Linked DNA regions of Homo sapiens: region 1 is linked to region 2. Evidence: promoter capture Hi-C in 16 types of primary human blood cells and fetal thymus (Javierre and others, 2016). All regions are on one chromosome and are shown on one strand. Each heading gives the region's core, a stretch centred on a gene start or on the middle of the fragment in contact. The rest is flanking DNA. Distances are from core to core; before and after follow the strand shown. Region 1 overlaps LINC03122 (long intergenic non-protein coding RNA 3122). Region 2 holds the start of ELOVL7 (ELOVL fatty acid elongase 7).

The links. Contacts are between HindIII fragments. The CHiCAGO score rates a contact against its expected background, and 5 or more counts as called.
Region 1: a contact is called between a fragment that was not itself captured here and the fragment with the promoter of ELOVL7 in region 2, in 1 of 17 cell types (total CD8 T cells). The highest score is 5.0, in total CD8 T cells.

Annotation. Positions count from the first base shown.
Region 1 is chr5:61,702,303-61,707,911 of GRCh38, forward strand. The region is part of intron 1 of LINC03122 (long intergenic non-protein coding RNA 3122); the gene reads left to right. Among named protein-coding and RNA genes, the nearest start is that of LINC03152, 6.7 kb to the left of the region's middle. The HindIII fragment of the contact is 3,758 bases long and covers 1-3,555 here.
Region 2 is chr5:60,841,372-60,846,526 of GRCh38, forward strand. It overlaps ELOVL7 (ELOVL fatty acid elongase 7), which reads right to left and starts at 2,898. Exons shown (of 9, transcript NM_024930.3): 1 at 2,789-2,898. RefSeq lists silencers at 2,570-2,629, 2,640-2,799, 2,820-3,119. The HindIII fragment of the contact is 2,652 bases long and covers 1,473-4,124 here.

The DNA of each region.
Region 1 (5,609 bases), core at 427-2,926, 860 kb after region 2:
GGGGAAATTTGCATGACTGCTTTAGAGACTCCTGCTTTCTTCCCTGATTTGTCTGACAGGCAGTCGAAGTACAGAGTGCACATTAGAACAACTGTAGAGAACAGAAACTCCTGTCCGGGGGTGCCTCCTTAAATGATTCATTCCTGGAGTCCAGATGTGGGGAAGGCAAAGACCCTGAGAAATCTATGTAATTTGGAAAGCAGAAAAGAGACTTAATCCAAGTTAACTTGCTTTCTCTTGGTGTCATAGCCACCAACCACAACCCAATGACACCACTTGAAGAAAAATTTGAAGTAAATGGCATCTTGTGAAACTTCCCCCATCCCAGAACACTCGAATTGTTTTTTTGTTTCTTGCTATTGAAAACTAGATGTTACTAGATATGTTCTGAAGGCTTCTATGAAAAGTTATTTCTCATAGTGAGCCTGCTTCTTAATATTTCTCCTCCCTGTGCAATTTTGTGTTCTCTTGTACCTACTTTAAGTTATAATCTGCTCTTAACATCTTAGTACAGCATAGTCGACCAGACTGTCAAGGGCAAAGTAGGGGATTAGAATTTGGAGATTTTTAGAGAAAGGGAAAGGCTTTCTCTGCAAGGTGTTTCCCAAGGGGACCCTGGGCAGCCTCCAGAATTCTTGGCAGTGGGCAGATCCCAGTCTCTCAGGCTTCATGGCCTCACAGCTGGACTGTGTGGGAGCCTCCTGACACTGGTTTTGGTGATTAGCATCAGATTAGTCATCTTTAGAGCTCTCTTCCTCCATGCCTGTCTCCTGCCCAAAAATGTCCGTGACTTTCTATTGCCTATAGGATGAAATCCAAATCCCCTAGGCTTTCTTTTTTCTCTCTCTCTCTCTTTCTTTCTCTCTCTCTCTTTCTTTCTTTCCTTCCTTCTTTCTTTCTGTTTTTCATTTTGTCACCCAAGCTGGAGTGCAGTGGCACAATCATGGCTCACTGCAACTTCAACCTCCTGGGTGCAAACGATCCTCCTGCCTCAACCCCCTAAGTAACTACAGGTGCATGTCACTACGTGTGGCTAATTTTTGTACTTTTTGTAGAGATGAGGTTTTGCTGTGTTGCCCAGGCTGGTCTCAAACTCTTGAGCTCAAGTGATTTGCCCACCTTGGCCTCCCAAATTGCTGGGATTACAGGTGGGAGCCACTGCACTTGGAGGCTTTCTTTCAATAAACTGGTTCCTAACAATATGCTGCCCTTAGGCGCCATTTCCACTCCTTGAAAACTCCTTTCTGACCAGACTCACTGTCTCCTTAACACACCTGACCAAACCTACCTCCTTGCCTCTGTCAACTTGTACTCCACAAATGCCATGGCTTCTCCCGTCTACCCTGCTGAGTCTCATCCAACCTTCCTACCTACTTAAGGCTCAGCTCACCTTGCTGTTCTATGTGTAACTTTTCCTAATCTTTCCCAATATATAGCGTTTTTTCCACTTTTGAATTTCTACAAGTACTTTTTGTACAATTATCATGCTGGTCCTTTGTTTTCAACTAGACTCCTTGAGTGTCCTACTCCTTGTAACTATTTGCTAATTGATTATTCTTTCAGAATCAGTATTTCAAGCATCCAAAATGTGTAGGAGAATATGGACCCAAGAACGGAGCAGAGAGACAAATAGAGGAACGGAAAGTTTTGCCTACAACCATGATGTTCTCAATGTTAGCTGACTGTGTTCTAAAATCCACTCCAATTCCCATTTTGGGAGTTGCTATGTGATGAAGGTCTGCCCCTGTGGTGTTGGGACAACTTGCTCATGGAGTTGCAGTTCTTGCCTAACAGGAACCCACCATGGTAAGAAAAAGACTCAAGCTGGTTTATTTGTTTTTAAGGTTGCAAGGTAATCAAGTCCATAACCACACTTGCTCTCACATTTACCAAAATAGGCCAATCTCAGAACTAAATGATAAAAATGAAAATTAATCAGGGACTCCCATGGGCCTCACATATATGGCAGTTTTGAATCTGTTCTTTTTTTCACTATCATAATTGTTTTTTTAAACTCATTTTCTCTGCTTGAATACACAACTGTAAAAAAAAGTGGGGGTAGTGGTGGTGATAGAAATGAATAAACCCATGGAAACAGTGAGACATCTACAGAGACAAAATTAGGAAGGAAGGAAACAAAAGCAATTTCAGTATCTCTGTGCAAGGCCTGCATACCTTTCCTTGCCAATACCCGTGGATTGGGCTTGTCTCAGGAGGTAGCAGGTGTTTCCTTGACTCACACAGAAAACAAGCCCTTGGGCTTCTTGTGCTGTTAGGGCAAGTTACGTTCAGCACATGAACACTGGACCCTGCTTTGCCTGTCCGTCCTTCCCAGAAGAGACACAGATCACAGATGATCAAGTAGTTGAGAAAACAGTTCAAGAGGAGGCTTTGTATCTTTTCTTTCTTTTCTTTCCTTTTTTTTTTTTTTTTGAAACGGAGTCTCGCTCTGTTGCCCAGGCTGGAGTGCAGTGGCATTATCTCGGCTCACTGCAGCCTTTGCCTCCCGGGTTCAAGTGATTCTCCTGCCTCAGCCTCCTGAGTAGCTGGGTTTACAGGTGCCTGCCAGCACGCCCAGCTAATTTTTGTATTTTTAGTAGAGACGGGGTTTCACTGTGTTAGCCAGGATGGTCTCGATCTCCTGACCTCATGATCCACCCGCTTCAGCCTCCCAAAGTGCTGGGATTACAGGCATAAGCCACAGCACCCGGCCCTGTGTCTTTTCTTAATTTGAGCGAACTTAAAGTAAAAACGCTTCTTAACATTATAAAGTAGGACTATGTCCCCTCCATTGAATTTTTGTAAAAAAGTCGAATAGGGATAGAAAGCAAGCAACCAGATAGAATATCATGCCCCAGAACATCATTTACCTTGGTAGAACATTACCACTTTAACACATAGAAACCTTTTCACACTAGTTAACAAATAGCATTAAGCATGATTCAAGTCAAGATTTTAAAAACTTGGCTGATGCCTCTCATTAAGAGTTGAAAACTATATAAGACTCTTGCTCCAGGAAACTGTGTTCTGACATTTTAATAGTATTGCGTTAGCAAGAGCAGAAAATCCATGAACTTAGATTCACAGAAAGTAAATCAAGAATCCATCCAAAATGGAGTGCCTCTTGCTGAGTGATGGGATGGTTTTCATGTGAGATGTCAGTGCAGCTTCTATACTTGACATAAAAGTTCCCATTAAAAAAAACGGAACTGCTGCTCAATTTTTTTTTCATCAAGCAGAGTTACCTAAAGTGCTTTTTAGAAGAGACTATTAGGAAAGGAATGGAAAGTAGTCATTATGACTAATCTGCTTTAGGAGTTGGGGTAACCAGTATTACAGGAGGGACTTTCAGAGCCATGGGGACCTTTTAGGCAACTCAAATTCCTTCAATTGTTTGCAGTGGTCCTCTCGAGGGGATGTAATGAGTTGACATGCACCAGAACAGATAGAATGCACTGCCAGCTGGTAGTTTACTCTTGTACAGGAAGGCTGCTTTTCTAACACACAACTCTTTGTTGTGTTAAAGAGAAATAAATATATAAAAGCCTAAAAGTAAGCTTTCAATTCTTTATGTCTGGCAAAATTGTCAGTACAATGTGCCTTGAGGATATATCCATGGTGCTGTCTTACAAGGTTATTACGAAAGAATAAGCTCATACTATAATAACCACCCCATACACTTTACAGTTTATGAAGAACTTACATATACATTTTCTCAGTTGAACCTCACAACATCAGTGGGAGGCAGGGGAGGCAGATATTATTATCTCTTGAGAGGGAGTGACCCTGCTGCTGCTGCTGTATATGTGTGGCTTTTGGTTTAGGAAGACTAAGTTGATTGTGTTGTATTTTCAAGTATTTTATATCGTACAAGGATGTTTATTGCAGCACTGTTTATAACAAGGAAAAATTGGAACCTACTCGAATGCTTGCTAATAGGGGACTCATTAAACTATGGTACAAGCTTAGATATGACTCTGTAGTCATTAAGAATTTTGATGAGGTATTAGAAAGAAATGTATTGATGTTGAAGTATATTTATTGATGAAGGAAATTGTTCACAATATTTCAGCCAATAAACAATAGTATATGCATTTTTTTGTAATAGGAAAAAATGCACACAGTAAAATAGTGGTTATCTTTGTGTGCGGTGAATATGTATGATACTTGTTTTCTTTTTCATGCTCACCTATCAATTCTAATCTTAGTGTCAATAAATATTAAAAATGTACTATCTGACATTTTCAGCGAGATTAACTTTTACAATGAAAGTTAATGGAAAATATATGGCTCCACCTCTGGGCCTCACGGGTAGAGTGATCTTGGGCATGTAGATGTGTCAGCCATGGTCGTGGCAAGGCCCTGAGTTCAACTAGATGGCACAAATTGAGTGTGGATCAGGTGTGTCTTACAGTGCTGTGCAAAGGGATAAGGAGCAAACAAGGGTGACAAGGCACCAGACACCAGCAACACTGGGAAGCCACGATCACTCCTAGGGCCAAAAGGACAAAAGGAGGAAATAGAGTTACCAAGTTACCAGAGCCCTGGGGACAGGAGTTGTGAATGAACTCCCCTCATTCCATGGGAGCTACAACAGCAAAGCATCACAGGCTTTGTTAGACACCAGTGAAGACAGGAAGAAGTGCCCTGACCTCTTTCCTCCTGTATTTCCTGCTGGTGCCTTCTGCTGACCAAGCCCTATGGGAAGCCAGCTGGCAGGAGATTCCTAGAGTCAGCCTCCTGGTGCATAGCAAGGGGCAAAGCAGGGCAAAAAATGCGTCTGGCCATTGGGGCTGTGCAGCAAACACAGTGAGCAGAACACAGGTCAGTCCCTGAGAGAAAAGGGTGTTTCTTAGGAAGCTGAAACAGAAAGGAAGAGCCTGTTGGGGCAGGATGGCCTGAGTAATTTGATTTTTTTGCCTGTGCTCAGAGCTTCAAACGTGTGGGAATGGGATCACAGATCACCGAATGCAAACTGAGAACAAAATTTCTTTATGAAATTTTATGCAGAGATAAAATTGTGTACCTTTGGACCCCAATAATATCATCCTTGCTGCTTGAAGAGAAGAGGGGACTGCCAGGGAAAAGAAGACCAAAGTCATCTCAGATGTACCTCACTGCTTCCTGCTGTCCCATCTTTATTCCTATGCTCTCTCTCACTTCAGTGTCTTTGTCACCAGCCCCACATGATAGCTTAACAAGAGGTAGCATGCATCTGGTGAACACTTGCTTAAAGCAAGCAGTGGGGGAGGCACTGTTTGTGGTAGGCACTCAACATGATTAACTCATTTATTTCTCACAACAACCCTATGAAAAAAGTGACATTGTTCCCCAGTCTACTGAGCAGCTAAGAACATTGATAATGGAGCCAGGCTGCTTAGATTTGAATGCTGCCTCTGCCATTTCCCAGCTCTGTGACTCAGTTTTCTCATCTGTAAATGGGGATAATAATAGTGTCTACCTACTGGGATGGTTGTGAGGATTAATTGGAGAAATATGAGTAAAGTGTTCTGAACTGGGCTTCACATAGCAAGCCTAAGTCTCCAGTTCCCACATAAGGAAACTGAGGCATAGAGATGTTAAGGTACTTGCCTCAAATCATAGGGTTG
Region 2 (5,155 bases), core at 1,648-4,147:
ATAGAAAAAAAGAGAGAGACAAAGGCAACCTGGTTAAATATTCATTGTGGTAGAATTATGTTCAGTGGGTCTGAACTCTCTTCTTGGCTCCCTGATCTTATCCTTTTGGTACCAATTTCCAGTCTTATTTTCTCTCTCCTCAAGCCTCTCCATGCACAGCCAATTCTTTCTTGGCAATGCCTCTTGGGAGCAGTCCAGGCCCACTTCACCTTATACAGGTTTTTGTGAAAAGATTCCTATTTGGCCTGACTGTAGCCTATCTATGGCCAGAATAACACTGTCGTTCTATTGCTGAATACATCTACTGTGTTAATCTGTCCATTTATGTTTTATGCACTTTTATGTATGTGCTACGTTTTTCAATAAAAAGGTTTTTTTTTAACTTTATGTGTTTTCATATTTTGTTTTGTCAAGATAAGGATAAATGGTTTTCTGCTGATTTGCTTCATTATACCTCTAAATGTAATGTTTCATCAGAACAGCTGGGTACCTGTTTGTGACAATGGAGTGAACACAGGCTTTTCTCCCCTTCATGTACAATGTCTACCAGCTCCTACACGTTTACCAATGCAAACTCCGTAACTTCCTGTAAAACCTGGCTTAAAAATTTCCATCATCAAACCTGCCTGATGTGTGCTACCAAAATTTATACTGTATCATCTTCTACATTTATCAAGCAACTACTAGCTGTAAGGCCTGAAGATTTAATGTCCTAAGCTGTTTGCAATCTTTTTGTGCAAAGCAAACATAAAAGATGATAACAAATAGCAGAGAAGGGCATATGTGTTCAAAGTGGGGAAGAGGGAGAGTGGTGAAGAGAGGATGGGAGTGGGCGAGACTGATAAAGGCTAGAAGACACCATGTAAAAATTGGATAGAAGATATTTAACGAATGGGAGAGGAATGGCACGGCACCTTGGAGACCAGGATAATGGCAGGACCCTTAATGGAAATGAGCATCTGGAGCTGTTTTGGGGAAAAGCCGGGCAAGTCCAAGCGGAATATTATAATGTGCACTGACAGACGTTACACTAAAACTGAAGAAGACATGGAAAGCACAGAATCTTAAGCCAGATAAATACAGGTGATAGATGAAGTAACAAAGTCCCAAAAATCTATTTTTCTTAAAAAAAAAAAAAGCGGGGGCAGGGGGAGGGTGTGGGGATCCTAAACTAGTATAAAGACACATAAGAAGGAAAAGAGGGACCTGAGATTGACAGCCTGGTCAACGATGCCTGAAACAGCACGGGACTTCAGAAAATAAGGACGAGCAAACGAACTCTAGGTGAGGCAGTGTAGGACAGTGGTTAACAGCTCCAGTGCTGGAGACAGAACCCCAGAGCTGGAATCTCCTACCGCTGAGATGGGTGTGGCCTTGGGCAAGTTACTTAACCTCTCCGTGCCTCAGTTACCTCATCATTAAAATGAGAATAATATTAATATCTACTTCCCAGGATCGTTGTGAAGATTAAAAGCTTTTACACAAGAACTGACATCAGTGCCTGGCACCTAAGCACTGATAAATGTCTGCCACGGGGTGAGGGGTGGATTTTATTTAGTTCTCGGTGACCTTGGGGAGACCAATTTCTGATCAGTAGTACGAAGAGAAACTACAAAGAAAGGGAATGAATAAGCGGGTGCGTGGTAAGAACGCAGAGGCAGCCACCAGGTATCGATGACCCTTTCGGAGCACGTAAGCAATAAAAGTGAGGAATGAAATAAAGGGTAATCCGAGAGCACAGGGTTAAGTGAACATGCTTTCCGAGGGGAGATCGTAGCAAGAGGGAAAAGACCACTGGCGAGGAACTCGGGTCGCTAAAACTGTTCTTCAGTCGACGCGGGACTAACTACACTGGGAGCAGGACAGGTGTAAAGACCCGCTCCTTCCCGTCCCGAGTTCCCCAGGGAGCTCCAAAGAGCGCTCTGTCCGCACCGGGTGAAGTTTGAAACAGCTCTGACTTGAAGGGGGAAAGCCCATTTCCCAACGAACCTGGGAAAGCCCATTTCCCAACGAACCTGGGAAAGCCCATTTCCCAAAGAACCAACGATACCTGGGACGACAAAACAACAGGCTTTCCTGTTTCCATCTCCGGCACGACCTGTTCCACGGCTCTGTATTCATCAGCCTCCTCCCGGCCAGCAGCAGCCACCAAGACAGGATGCGGCTCGGGGAGCCGAAGGGACAGCGCCCCAAGTTCATCTGGCCGCGGGAGCAAAAAAAGCGCCCAAAGGGGAAGGAAGGAAACAGAAAGAAAGGGGCTCCGGAATTTGGGGGGGTGGCTAGCGAGGCCAGACCCCGGAGCTGGGAAAATGACCTCCGCGTCCAAGGTCGAGCAGGTCCTTCTCCCTCCCAGTCCCGCCGGCGAGCACCTCTGCCCCTCCCGCTCCGCTCCGCAGGGCCAGCGCCGCGCGGGACCCCAGTCCAGGCTCCGCTCCGCAGCGCGCCCACCGGGCCCGACCTTCCCTTCGGGATGCTGCCGGGTGGGGGCTCCCGAGAAGGCGCAGGTGAGCGCCGCGGCCCCGCGCTCCGGCGAAAAGGGCCTCGGTCCTCCCCACGCGCAGGCAGCGGGGACAGAACTTCCCAAGCGCCTCCCGAGCCCAGGGAGGGCCTGGCCCCGCTCCCGGGGCCCCCGCACCCGGGTCCCACTTCTCGCGCGCCGCGCCCAAGTTCCTCCATCCGGCCACTCCCGACGCCGTTCCCCTCGGCTCTGCCTCCCTCCCCAGTCTCTTCTCCTCCGCGCGCCGGGAAAGTTTGGCCCCTGCCCGCCGGCCTGGAACCCCGCACTCACCGCACAGGGAGCGGAGCCGAAGCGCCGGGCGCGCGCGGGAGAGAGGGCGGCGACTGGCAGCGCGAGCGCGGAGCTCCTCACAGCGGCCCCCGCTGTCCCGGCCGCCGACTGGGTTGGAAAGGGGAGGAGGCCGCCGGGTGTCACCTGCCCGCTATCCCACCCAGCCGCGTGACGCGCGCAGCGCCGCCCCCTGCCCGCCGCCGCCAGGTGCCCGCCGAGGGCCGGAGGGAGGAGCCGGGGCGGCGCGAGGGGGAGCGGCCGGGAGGGCGGAGGCCGCCCCGGCCTCGCCTCCGCCGCGCGCCCTGACTCTCGGGACTGGGGCCCACCGGCCGCTCTGGGTTAGCGGGGCTGGTCGTGGCACCGATGACCTTTCTTTCCGAGAGCAGATGCCATCACTTGGGGGACATCTCCAGGCTGACATAGCAGAGTGGAAATTGTCGTCATGCGTGACTCATTTGGGAATGAGCAGTAGAAAAATCCGAAATGAGGAAAACCTAGCTGAGGCTGGAGGCGGAGAAAAAGGGGACTCCTTGCTTCTGAAAGGGTATTGGGAGGGTTAATTCGCATCTGAAATGGAAGCCAGACCAAGAGGAGAAGGCCCTGGGAGGGGAAGGCCGACTTGGTTCAGCTCCATCCCCTGCTTATAAGGAATAAGAAACTAGAGAATTGAGGCAGCCTGGGGGGCATGGGGAGAGGACTTTTAGAGCAATGAAGATTAGATTGTATATCATCTAACTTTGTTTCTGGTAACAGCAACTGCTGCAGGAAAAAAAGTCTAGAAAATTCATTTCTCGTTACCTACTGTTGGATTGGAAAGTGGGGGTGGGGATGAGCGTTCGGAGTGTGCACCTGCGCTTGGTTTATTTATTTTTTAAACGTACCTGGCCTTGTGTCTGGTAATGATCCTCCTAATCGCTGGTATGATTTGGATCATCAATAGCTGAAAGGCAAAATAGGGGCCTAGAGAAGTTCCCTGCTTCTGAGGCAAAACCAAAGGCTGGTGTTGAACTGTCCAGAAACCTAAAAAACAATAATCATTTTTAGTTGCAGTCCTGACCCAACCACCTCACAAATGTGGGCTTTGAGTTTGTATTGCGAGTTCTCAGCATGGAATCAAGAAACACAAAAAGGGGCTGGGAGCGTCAGGACCACCAGAGAGGATGGGTAGGGAGAAAAAAAAAATTGGGGTGTCGGAAGCATATTTTCCTCACATGTAGGGATTGCCTTCGGCAGCTTAATCCCACTACATTAAACAAGAGGTTTTAATGTTTTTATGTAAAACTTCGAAAGTGTCCATTGAAAGAAAAGCAAAAAAAAAAAAAAAAAAAAAAAAAAAAGCTTAAATTGCAAAGAATCTCGAAGTCAAAAAAACTAAAGATTTCTCCTTTCTTTTAGATAACTTTGCTTTCATATTAAAAACAGATCATTTAGTAGACTTAGGAAGTCTTTTGGGAACGGGAGACAATTGCCTAATGATACTAGCCTTTGAGTCTATCACAATTTACCATTTATATATACTTATGAAATTTCAAATATGCAGAAGCTCAAATGGATTCATTTATTTAACAAATACTGGAGTGCTGCTATGTTCCAGGCCCTGAAGTTTCAATAGATAACAAATTCCCCGTTCTCAGGGACTATACGTTCATTCTAGTTGGAGATGACAGACAATACATGAATAAAGAAGTAAAAAAAATGTAGTGTTCAGCCAGGCGCAGTGGCTCACGCTTGTAATCCCAGCACTTTGGGAGGCCGAGGCGGGCAGATCGTGAGGTCAGGAGTTCGAGACCAGACTGTGCAATACAGTGAAACGCCGTCTCTACTAAAAATACAAAAATTAGCCGAGTGTGGTGGTGCGTGCCTGTAGTCCCAACGACTTGGGAGGCTGAGGCAGGAGAGTCGCTTGAACCTGGGAGACAGAGGTTGCAGTGAGCAGAGATCTCGCCACTGCACTCCTCCAGCCTGGGCGACAGAGCTAGACTCTGTCTCAAAAAAAAAAAAGAGGAAAAAAAAGAAAAAAAATGTGATGTTCAGGGTTTGATAAGTGCTATGAAGAAAAATAAAGAAGGGAAGGGGATGGAGACTTTTGGAGGTGGGGAGTTGTGTTAAATGTTAAAGTGGTTAGGGAAGGCCCCAGTGGAAGCAGGCATTTCAGCCCAGATTTTGAACAGGTAAGGTGACACACCTGTGTGCCTATCCAGTAACAGCATTCCACTCAAAGGGAATGGCAAGGCTAAAAGCTCTGGGGGTGTGGTGTGGGATATTCCATTCATAGACCAGCAAAGGGGAGATGTCAGATGAATTTCAGTGAGTGAGGACAGTAAGAAATGAGGTCAAAGAGTTAAGGAAGCATTTTGAGTAAAAAAC